Regions from separate parts of the Homo sapiens genome. Here region 2 is linked to region 1. The links are contacts of gene promoters, found by promoter capture Hi-C in human tissues and cell types (Jung and others, 2019). All regions are on one chromosome and are shown on one strand. The core of a region is centred on a gene start or on the middle of the fragment in contact, and the rest is flanking DNA. Distances in the headings are between cores, read along the strand shown.

What was found. Contacts are between HindIII fragments. The study calls those that stand out against the background at their distance.
Region 2: a fragment that was not itself captured here is called in contact with the fragment with the promoter of KCNJ11 in region 1 in 1 of the 25 tissues and cell types used here (dorsolateral prefrontal cortex).

Annotation. Positions count from the first base shown.
Region 1 is chr11:17,387,409-17,392,515 of GRCh38, forward strand. KCNJ11 (potassium inwardly rectifying channel subfamily J member 11) reads right to left here and starts at 1,251. Exons shown (of 1, transcript NM_000525.4): 1 at 1-1,251. The coding sequence starts at 683. It also overlaps a transcript of ABCC8 not described here. RefSeq lists an enhancer at 1-433 and silencers at 1,642-2,151, 2,232-2,331. The HindIII fragment of the contact is 21,135 bases long and covers 1-5,107 here.
Region 2 is chr11:17,446,111-17,451,217 of GRCh38, forward strand. It overlaps ABCC8 (ATP binding cassette subfamily C member 8), which reads right to left. Exons shown (of 39, transcript NM_000352.6): 8 at 2,406-2,561. Among named protein-coding and RNA genes, the nearest start is that of ABCC8, 28 kb to the right of the region's middle. The HindIII fragment of the contact is 7,581 bases long and covers 1-5,107 here.

The DNA of each region.
Region 1 (5,107 bases), core at 1-2,500:
CCCTCGGGGCTGGTGGTCTTGCGTACCACCTGCATGTGGATGGTGGCGCTGATGATCATGCTCTTGCGGAGGTCACCCACACGTAGCATGAAGCAGAGGCGGCCGTGGCGCAGGGCGATCACCGCATGCTTGCTGAAGATGAGGGTCTCAGCCCTGCGGTGGGCTTGGGCAGTCTTCATGAAGATGCAGCCAAGCATGATGGCGTTGATCATGAGCCCCACGATGTTCTGCACGATGAGGATCAGGATGGCCAGTGGGCACTCCTCAGTCACCATGCGCCCCCCAAAGCCAATAGTCACTTGGACCTCAATGGAGAAAAGGAAGGCAGACGAGAAGGAGTGGATGCTGGTGACACAGGGCTCAGCAGTGCCCTCGCTGGGGGCCAGGTCACCGTGGGCGAAGGCGATGAGCCACCAGGCCATGGCGAAGAGCAGCCAGCTGCACAGGAAGGACATGGTGAAGATGAGCAATGTGTGTGGCCACTTGAGGTCCACCAGCGTGGTGAACACGTCCTGCAGGAAGCGGCCCTGCTCCCGGATGTTCTTGTGGGCCACGTTGCAGTTGCCTTTCTTGGACACAAAGCGGGCCCTCCGCTGGCGGGCACGGTACCTGGGCTTGGCAGGGTCCTCTGCCAGGCGTGTCAGCACGTATTCCTCGGGGATGATGCCCTTGCGGGACAGCATGGCTCCGGTGACCCCCAGGGAGGGGCTTCCCCCATCGGAGGCACCCCTCGGACGTGGCCTAGGGCCTCACTGCAGAGTCCTCTCGGTGGGCACCTTCTCACCCTGGGGCTGCACTCAGCCTGTGCTGGCCTCACTTCTGAGATAACTCCCCACCAGACTCTTCCTTACCTCCACCTGGGTCCCACTTCACTTCTTAATACCAGCCTCAGGCCGGGCGCGGTGGCTCACGCCTGTAATCCCAGTACGTTGGGAGGCTGAGGAGGGCAGATCACTAGGTCAGGAGTTCGAGACCAGCCTGACCAACATGGTGAAACCCCATCTCTACTAAAAATACAAAAGTTAGCCGGGCATGGTGGTGCGCACCTGTAATCCCAGCTACTCAGGAAGCTGAGGCAGGAGAATCGCTTGAACCCGAGAGGCGGAGGTTGCAGTGAGCCAAGATCACGCCACTGCACTCCAGCCTGGGCGACAGAGCGAGACTCCGTCTCAAAAACAAAAAACAAAACAAAAAAAACAGCCTCACCCTTGAGCCCACCTGCCTGGCGCCTAGGGAGCCCCCAACCCTGCCGGCTCTCCACCTGGCCCTGCGTCCTCCCCCAGCTTCCCCCACCAGCTGACCACCCCTGGGCCTCCCGCTAAGAGCCCTTCTCCCCGCCCAGCCTGCCTTCCCAGCCCAGCTCAGAACTTAACACCTCCGGATCTCTCCCACTAACCGGACCTCACCCCCACCTCCGGGTCTCCCGCCTCACCTGTCTGGCCTTCGGGCTCCCAGGCTCCAGCTCAGGTCCTGGCCACCCCCGCCCCGTCTCTCCTCCAGGTGCGCCCCCTATGTCCTACTCCACCCCTCCCGGAGCGCCCCCGCCGCTTTCCGGATCCCCCTCCAGCTCTCGTCCTCTCTGTCTCCTTGGGATCCTGCGTTCTCTGGAGTCACCACCCCACCCGGCTCAACCGCGGCTCCCCGGACCTGCGCGCGACCCGGCGGGGCTGACTCCGAGTCGCGGCCTCCCGGTCCCTGCCGCCCGCCCGCGCCGCGGCTCCCGCTCCGCGCCGGGTCCCGGCCCCGCCCGCCGCCGCCGCTGCACCTGCTCCTGCTCCTCACGCCACGGCCGTCGCCTCCCCGCCCCCTCCCGCCGCCCGGGCGCTCGCGGCTGGCCGTCCTCCCGTCTGTCTGTCCGTCCGTGGGTCCGCGGAGACCGACCTGGGCTAGGCAGGGGTCTAGGACGGCGGGAGGGGGGCGCACGAGGAGAGGAACGGGGCCGGGGACCGCCAGGGGGAGCCCGACCTGCACCGGAGCGCAGGGGGCGGGGCCGGAGCAAGCCCCCGCCCCTCCCGCGCCCCTCCCCGCCCCCGCCCTCCACCTCCCCTCCCGGGACTCACAACCCGGCCTTTGGAGTTTTTCTGATCCGCGGAACCCAGAGGTTCCTCCTGCCCACGCTCTACGAAAGTGGGGGGCTGGGAGGGATCTGTGACCCGCCCTCCCAGTCTGGGGCCGCCGCCCTGTCGCCCTGGCTCCCCTCCCCCAATATCCCCATCCGTATTTGGGTCAGTAATCCGCCTCTCGGCCGCGCCAGGTTTGCAGGTTCCCCGGGAAAGGAGGCGCTGAGAGGCGGCGCCACCAATCCCAGGGCTGGCGGAAATTAGGCGGTCCGAGGACTTCTCAACCTGCAGCTGCTTCTCTTTGGGGGATGCTCTTAATCTTAGTCTTGAATCCTTTGACAATCTGATGGAAGCTCAGACTCCCTCTCATTAAAAAAAAAAAAAAAAAAAAAAAAAAAAAAGGCCTCGGCAGGAAAGGAGCACAGTTTAACACCTGCTACTGCTGTGGGGCAGCCTGGGCGGCTCCATCTTCTCAGCCATTCCGGCCCTACTTTAAAGAAGGTTTGAGCCGAGGCCACTTGCTTTACACTTTCTCACACCTGTCACCTGACTTCTTCCACGTTAGGTCATGGGTGGTATTTAGGCCTGAACAGTGTGTTAGGGCTGCCTCGGGCACTGGGGGACCCAGGCTCTTGGTCCCGGCATGGTGGTGTTTCTGTTCAGGCATCAGCCTGAGGCTGCCCTGTGGCATGGACCCGGGTTCTCAGCTGGGAGGGAAAGCCTGCTAGATCTCTGTTGTTGGAACAGTAACGGCTTTACCGCTGTCTGTGGCTCAGATCCTTATGGAAGAACCCCTGACCATCTGCGGCCATTTTGTTGGAGTGGGGGCTTGAGACAGGGTCTGGAAAAGGCAGTGTGGCTGTGGGCCACAGTGGGGGCAAGATATGCATTTTATATTGGATTTTCCTTTCTCTCCCTACCCACCTGCAGGCAGAGCGAACACCGCTACAAAGGATGGGTGTGATCATGGGCTATATTAACAAAGATGCAGTGTCTAGGAAGGGGAGGGTAAAATGAGATGAGCAGAGTGGGAAGCTCAAGGAGACAGGGTTACATGGGGAAATCTCTGAGGCAACTACAACTGTCCAGCCATCAGAAAAGGAAAGTCCCCCAGGGATTTGGGCACTATTGCAGAAACACCTGGCCTTGAAGGAGGATGAACTAGTAGTTTTTTGTGGCCCAAAGGGTAGAACCAGGACACTAAGTGGAACAGAGGCAGGCTTTGGTTTCACATATGCAAGAGTCAGTTCTAATAACAATAACCAGAGATGAGCCACATCTGTGGGGTACCCAAATCAAGTCGGTGGGCCATGAGGGATGTTATACAGGGATTTTGGGCCAGGATGACCTTGGGCATCCCTGCAACACCTCACTGTGGGCCCAGCCCTGCCCCTGCTACTTCCCTTCAATCTGTTGAGGTGGGGTGGCTTTGGAGCAGTGGTAGGCTTGTGGAGTCCTCTTTCAGTTCCCCGGCTCTGCTCTTGGGAGATCTCACAGTGGAGGAAGCTGCTGGGCCCCTGGGGAAATCTCAGAGCTGGAAAGGCTGGGTTCTGCCTCCTGGTGCAGCCTTGAGGCCTTACCTCCCTCCCTGCTGCTCACCCTTCTGAGAGGCTGAGTCTCCCACCTGAAAGGCTCAGCCTCCCCTTTTGCTCCATCCTGCACTTGCTTATAGTCATCTCCACCAAATACTGAACTTGTCAAGTCGCTTTCTTGCTCAAAACCCTTCTCCCTTTTTGTCCATGGGCATAGCCCACACTCCTTGCTCTGGCATTCAGGGCTCTCTGATATGATGCCCTCCCCACTGCTGTAATCTCTCTCCCACCTCCCTGATCAACCAACACTCTTAACACACTTCCACCATCACTCCTTAGCTCCTGCTGTCCCTACCTGCCACCCCAACCCTTTCTCTGACTTTCTGCCTAACCAATCCCTATCCCCCACAATATTTAACTCAAATTTTGTCTTTTCCAGGCAGGCTGCCAGGCTTTACAGAGCTCTTCCTTTCCGAGCTTCTCTGGCTCCTGGAACATCCACAGGGGTCTGCACTGGACCTGCCTCCGATAACTGGTGGGCTTTTCTTATGTTGTGCCTCTATGATCCCCTTGCAGCCAAGAGGATGCAGGTTCAAGACTCTTAGGTCTGCACCTCAGGGCTTGGTGCAGCCAGTACTGCAGATGATATGCAAATGATCATAAAATGAGATGTAAATGAGCACCTGCCATTTCTTGGCCAAGGGCAGGTGTGCACTCTTGTTTCGTGATGCAGAGGAAGTCAGGACAGCTGCTGTTTTAGTCTCCCTGGTGTCTGGGCTCCAGCGTCTCCCAGACACCACCTGGCTGACCTGTGACTCATGCACTGTGCTTTCCCTCTGAAGGACCACCTTTCCACTTCTGAATGCCCCTGCTTGAGGGATGGAGATGGAGACATGATCCAGGCCTAGCCAGCCAGTGTATGCCACCCCTCTGATCACAGTGGGGTGGGGATGGGAATGTGATCCAAGTTGGTGCATTGAGATTTGCTCCCAAGCTTTTGCTGGAACTATTGGGAAGGAGTATCTGTTTTGCCTCTTGGGTTGCCTTGGGGCAGGATGTAAGCTGGACCTGCTAGTGGCCATCTGTCATAATGAAAGGGGAGGAAAATGGAACCCAGAAAGGAAGACACATCCCAGATGGATGTCAAACACCTGGGTCCAGCCATGCTTGAAGTAGTATACCTCTTAGCCTTGTCAGTCACATATTCAATAAATTCAGTTTCTGCTTAGGTTACTTTGAATTGGGTTCCTGTCATTTGCAATTGAAATAGTGTTAATCCAGATTTTAATTCAAGAATGAAAGTGAGAAGAAAGGAGACCAAGCTGTATGGAGATCTGTTACCTTATCTGATAAGCTCATTGCAGAAATGCTATCACCCTTGCTATGGACATAATTGTGTCCTGCCAAATTCACAGGTTGAAGCCTAATCCTACAATGTAACTGTATTTGGAAACAGGGCCTGTGAGGAGATAATTAAGGTTTAATGAGGTAATAGGGGTGGGGCCCTAATCCAAT
Region 2 (5,107 bases), core at 984-3,483, 60 kb after region 1:
ACACGCCATCATGCCCGGCTAATTTTTGTATTTTTAGTAGAGACGGGGTTTCACCATATTGGTCAGGCTGGTCTCGAACTCCTGACCTCAGGTGAACCATCAGCCTCAGCCTCCCAAAGTGCTGGGATTACAGGAGCGAGCCACCATGCCTGGCCAACAAAATCTTACAAACTGCTTGTTCAAGGGGACACAACAGAAAGTGTCTTGTAGCCTTTTGAATGCTGTGTACATGTTAGGATCCTCCCAGGCTGTGTCTCTCTGCATCAGACCCTCACAGCCCAAAGTGTTAACTAATGAGAGAAGCATGGTCAGAAATCTTCATTTTTCATGTTTCAAAAAAAAAATTGTGTTAGAGATGAGGTCTCTCTATGTTGCCCAGGCTGGACTCGAACTCTTGGGCTCAAGCCATCCTCCTACCTCAGCCTTTTGAGTGGCTGAGACTACAGGCATGAGCCACCACACCCAGCTTAGAAAGTCTTGTGCATAAAAGGTTGGTTGGTAACTAAACTAGATGAGATCTCCAGGCCCTTTTGTAGCTTTTATAGTCATTGATCTGTCTTGGCAGAATGGAGCGGGGGCAGTCTGGGCATGGGTAGGTGGTAATGGGGGATGGCATATATGACTGTTCCCATAAAAAAGAACATCAGATTCCCTGCATCTCATCTTGTCTAGCTGTGTCCCTGTGGGAGCCTCTCCCCTTTTTTTCTTTTAATATTTTTAAACTCTAAGCTTTACAAGTAAGGAGGACCAATACAAATCACTGGAGATGAAGGTTTATGGAATCTTTATCCCAAGAAGCAATGGATTCTGGATTGGTAACACCTCACTCATACCAAACATGTGCAAGGTAGAGGGATCTGATATTTACGAAGTGAAGACTCTGGGGGCCACTCTGCCTGCTGTGTTACTTACATTATCTAACTGAATTGCCATAGCAACTCCAGAGGGTGGGCAGCCTCCCCATTTCATAGATAAAGAAACCAAGGCTCAGAGAGGTTAAGTATTTGAATCAGCCTGTCTCACCCAAGTCACTTTCTGCTACATCAAGCTCTCCCGGTGGAACCTTCCCGCCCTCTGGGAATGGGTCTGGGATTTCGGTTTCTGGCCTGAACACCAGGGTGAAGATTTAGTCCCAGGCATAGGACAGGATCAGACTCTGTGGTGGAAGAGCTCCGGGTGGGAGATGGGACACATGAAGCCCGAGGTCAGATCAATCATGCTGACGATTCTCCTCTGATTATTGGGGGGTAATGTACCTCTTCCTGAGCCAGCACCAAAGGTTGTCTTGCTTTAAAAAAATACCATGTTTTAACGTTTTTATTTTTATTTTTTAAGAGACAGGAGTCTCTCTGTTGTCCAGGCTGAAGTGCAGGGGCGTGATCATTGCTCACTGCAGCCTTGAACTCCTGGGGTCAAGCAATCCTTCCATCTCAGACTCCCAGGTAGCTGGGACTAAAGGGGCGCACCACCACATCTGGCTAAAAAACACCAGGTTTTGTTTGTTTTTGAGACAAGGTGTCACTCTATCGCCCAGGCTGGAGTGCAGTGGTGTGATTGTAGCTCACTGCAACCTCTGCCTCCTGGACTTTAGGTAATCTTCCCACCTCAGCCTCTGAGTAGCTGGGGCTATAGTTGTGAGCCACCACTTCCAGCTAATTTTTTGTACAGACAGGGTCTCACTTTGTTGCCTAGGCTAAAAGTATCATGTTGTTGATTTCCAAATCTTATACACGCTTATTAGAGAATTTAGAAACACATAAAGAAAATAAAAATCACTTATAATCCCACTATGTGATTTTCCAATTCTTTTTCATGTGTGAATCTGTACAAATGTATACATAACATATATTCCAGTTTAGTAGTAAGCATACAACATATACTATTTGTAACTTACTCTTTTTGCTTAAAAATACATCACTAACACTTTTTGATGTAATTAAATATTTTGCTACAACATAGCTTTTAAGATCTGTGGGCATTCCATGTACGATTTTTCTTTTCTTTCTTCTTTTTTTTTTCTGCATAGAAGGGGTCTCACTGTGTTGCCCAGGCCAGTCTTGAACTCCTGTGCTCATGTAATCTTCCTGCCTCAGCCTCCCAAAGTGCTGGGATTACAGGTGTGAGCCCCTGAACCTGGCTTGATTTTTCTATAGTTTATAAAGTTGGCTCCATTTTTAAAGTCTTAATGATACTGCCTTCTCTGGTCATTAAGAGAGATGGTCAGTGCTTGCAGAGTATGGGACAGGAGGGACCCAGAGGTACAGCCTGTGGTATAGCCAAGTGTGTGAAAGGTACAGGCAAGCATGGAGTGGAAGACGGTGTGCTCCTAGTTACTGGCCATGGACCAGCAGATTCTGGTTGTGTGTCCTGCTGCCCCCCTCCCTTCCCCTCAGCCCATCTAGTACCTGTACTGGCATAGCCCAGAGGTTTGGGCACAAGAAGAAAAACCACATGAGCTGATTGGTGTCGATGGCAACCAGATTACAGATCTGTCCAGCAGTCATTTCTCCCATGGACAGGTTGGAGGTGGACAGGTGCATAATTTTATTGTAAATCTTGGTCTAGAAATGAGAGCAGAGTGTTTCACATTCATCATCATTCTCATCATCATCACCACACCAGATGCCACCTGTTACAGTGTGCCAGGGGCTTCTCAGACAGTCCCCATGGTGCCCTAGAGCAGCTCTGTAAGGTGGTACTGTATCACCGTTCCAACTTACTAGTCTACTCCAGCACAGCAAGCTACTTCTCCAGCAAGTAAGGCCTTTTCCTGTAGACAGGACTTAATTGGTTCTTTATTTTTATTTAATTTAATTCATTTACTTATTTATTTAGAGACAGAGTCTCGCTCTGCTTCCCAGGCTGGAGTGAAGTGGCATGATCTCAGCTCACTGCAGCCTCCACCTTCCGGGTTCAAGCAATTCTCATGCCTCAGCCTCCGGAGTAGCTGGAATTATAGGCACGTGCCTACCATGCCCAGCTAATTTTTATATTTTTAGCAGAGATGGGGTTTTGCCATGTTGGCCAGGCTGGTCTCAAACTCCTGACCTCAGGAGATCCATCCACCTCGGCCTCCAAATGCTGAGATTACAGGCATGAGCCACCGCACCCGGTCTGTTCTTTATTTTTTAAAGCAGATCTTCATGTCCACTTGTATTCTTGATTTACCAGAGGCCAGTGGAGAACACAGATCAGAGCCATAAAAATGATGAAGTGGGGCAGGCCATCTGTTTTAAAGTGGCCTTCTCCAGCCTAGGGAGGGGATCTGCTCTGAGACCAAGTCCTGTCATAATTGAGCCTTGAAACAAAACAAGGGTTCGACTTTGGAAGGTCTGATGTGTTACACGACCGCGTGAGTCAGTCAGCCCCAGCACCATCCCCAGAGTGCAGCCACCCCAAGGACCCTCACAGGGCAGACAGAGAGCAGCCATGGTAATGGCCTCCCCGAGCTCTGAACCTAAACGCTTTATGTGCAGAGTGATCATGACTCGCAGAAAGACTGCAATTTTTGGATGTGTGCTCTTGAACAAGGAAAAATGCATCCGGGTCTTAAATGTCCTCAGGATGCCTGCTCTTGGATAAAATTCTATTATTCATTCTGTTGTAAGGTGGGCTCCCCGCCCTTAATTCCTCTTTTGTGTAAACCCAGGCTTTTTTGTGGGTCAGGTTTTCTTAAGGCAGGAACCTATTCTATGTCTTTCTGTGAGCTAATATACACCATGGGCAAGGTTTAAAATAATGAACCTATTCTGTCTTTCTGTAAGTTTATATATACCATGGGTAAGGTTTAAAATAATGGCAATGACATTTTTAAAGAAATCTATATACCTCCTAGGTTATGTGAAATGAGACTTCAAAAGATAATCACCTAGTTTCAGTGAAGTAGGGACACCAAGTGATCTGTGAAATAAAGTCTTATTAAGTGAAGACCAGCATACACAGAAATGCACAACTGACTGACAGCTAGTAATTATGTATAATTCAGGAATTGTGCTTAATAACTTTTTATGCACAAAGCGTGGTTATTCTCTAACCCATGAAGACACAGGCTCTCATCCGTAAGGGTACATTTTCCGGAAATCTCCAAAAGAAAGAAAGAAAGGGTTTTTTTCTCCCTAACTCCTTTCTTTTCTTTTTCTTTCTTTCTTTCTCTTTCTTTCTTTCTTTCTTTCTTTCTTTCTTTCTTTCTTTCTTTCTTTCTTTCTTTCTTTCTTTCTCTCTCTCTCTTTCCTTTCTTTCTTTCTTTCCTTCCTTTCCTTTCCTTTCTTTCCTTTCCTTTCCTTCTTTCTTTCCTTTTTTTTTTTTTCAGAGTCTTGCTGTGTCGCCCAGGCTGGAGTGCGGTGGTGCCATCTCGGCTCACTGCAAGCTCCTCCTCCTGGGTTCACGCCATTCTCCTGCCTCAGCCTCCCGAGTAGCTGGGACTACAGGCACCCGCCACCATGCCTGGCTAATTTTTTTTTGTATTTTTAGTAGAGACGGGGTTTCACCATGTTAGCCAGGATGGTCTCGATCTCCTGACCTTGTGATCCACCCGCCTTGGCCTCCCAAAGTGCTGGGATTACAGGCATGAGCCACTTTTTTTTTTTTTTTTTTTTTGAGATGAAGTCTCACTCTGTCGCCCAAGCTGGAGTATAGTGGCACGATCTCAGCTCACTGCAACCTCCACCTGCTGGGTTCAAGCGATTCTCCTGCCTCAGCCTCCTGAGTAGCTGGGACTACAGGTGCACGCCAACATGCCTGGCTAATTTTTGTATTTTTAGTAGAGATGGGGTTTCACTATGTTGGTCAGGCTGGTCTCAAACTTCTGACCTTGTGATCCACCCGCCTCAGCCTCCCAAAGCGCTGGGATTACAGTCATGAGCCATTGCGCTCCACCCCCCTAATTTGTTTCTATAATTAATGCCAGTATTTGCTTTTTGTGGCATAGTAATGAATCTCTCTTATTAACATGAAAGATTCAAGCAATTTGATAAAAACGATTATATGCTAACCATTAAAAAACCATTTTTGGCTCTTTTGGCATAATTGGAAAATGTAATTTATGACATACACACATTAGTATATTTAATTACAAAACTGCCCAACCACAAAAGTGGCTGTTGCTTGT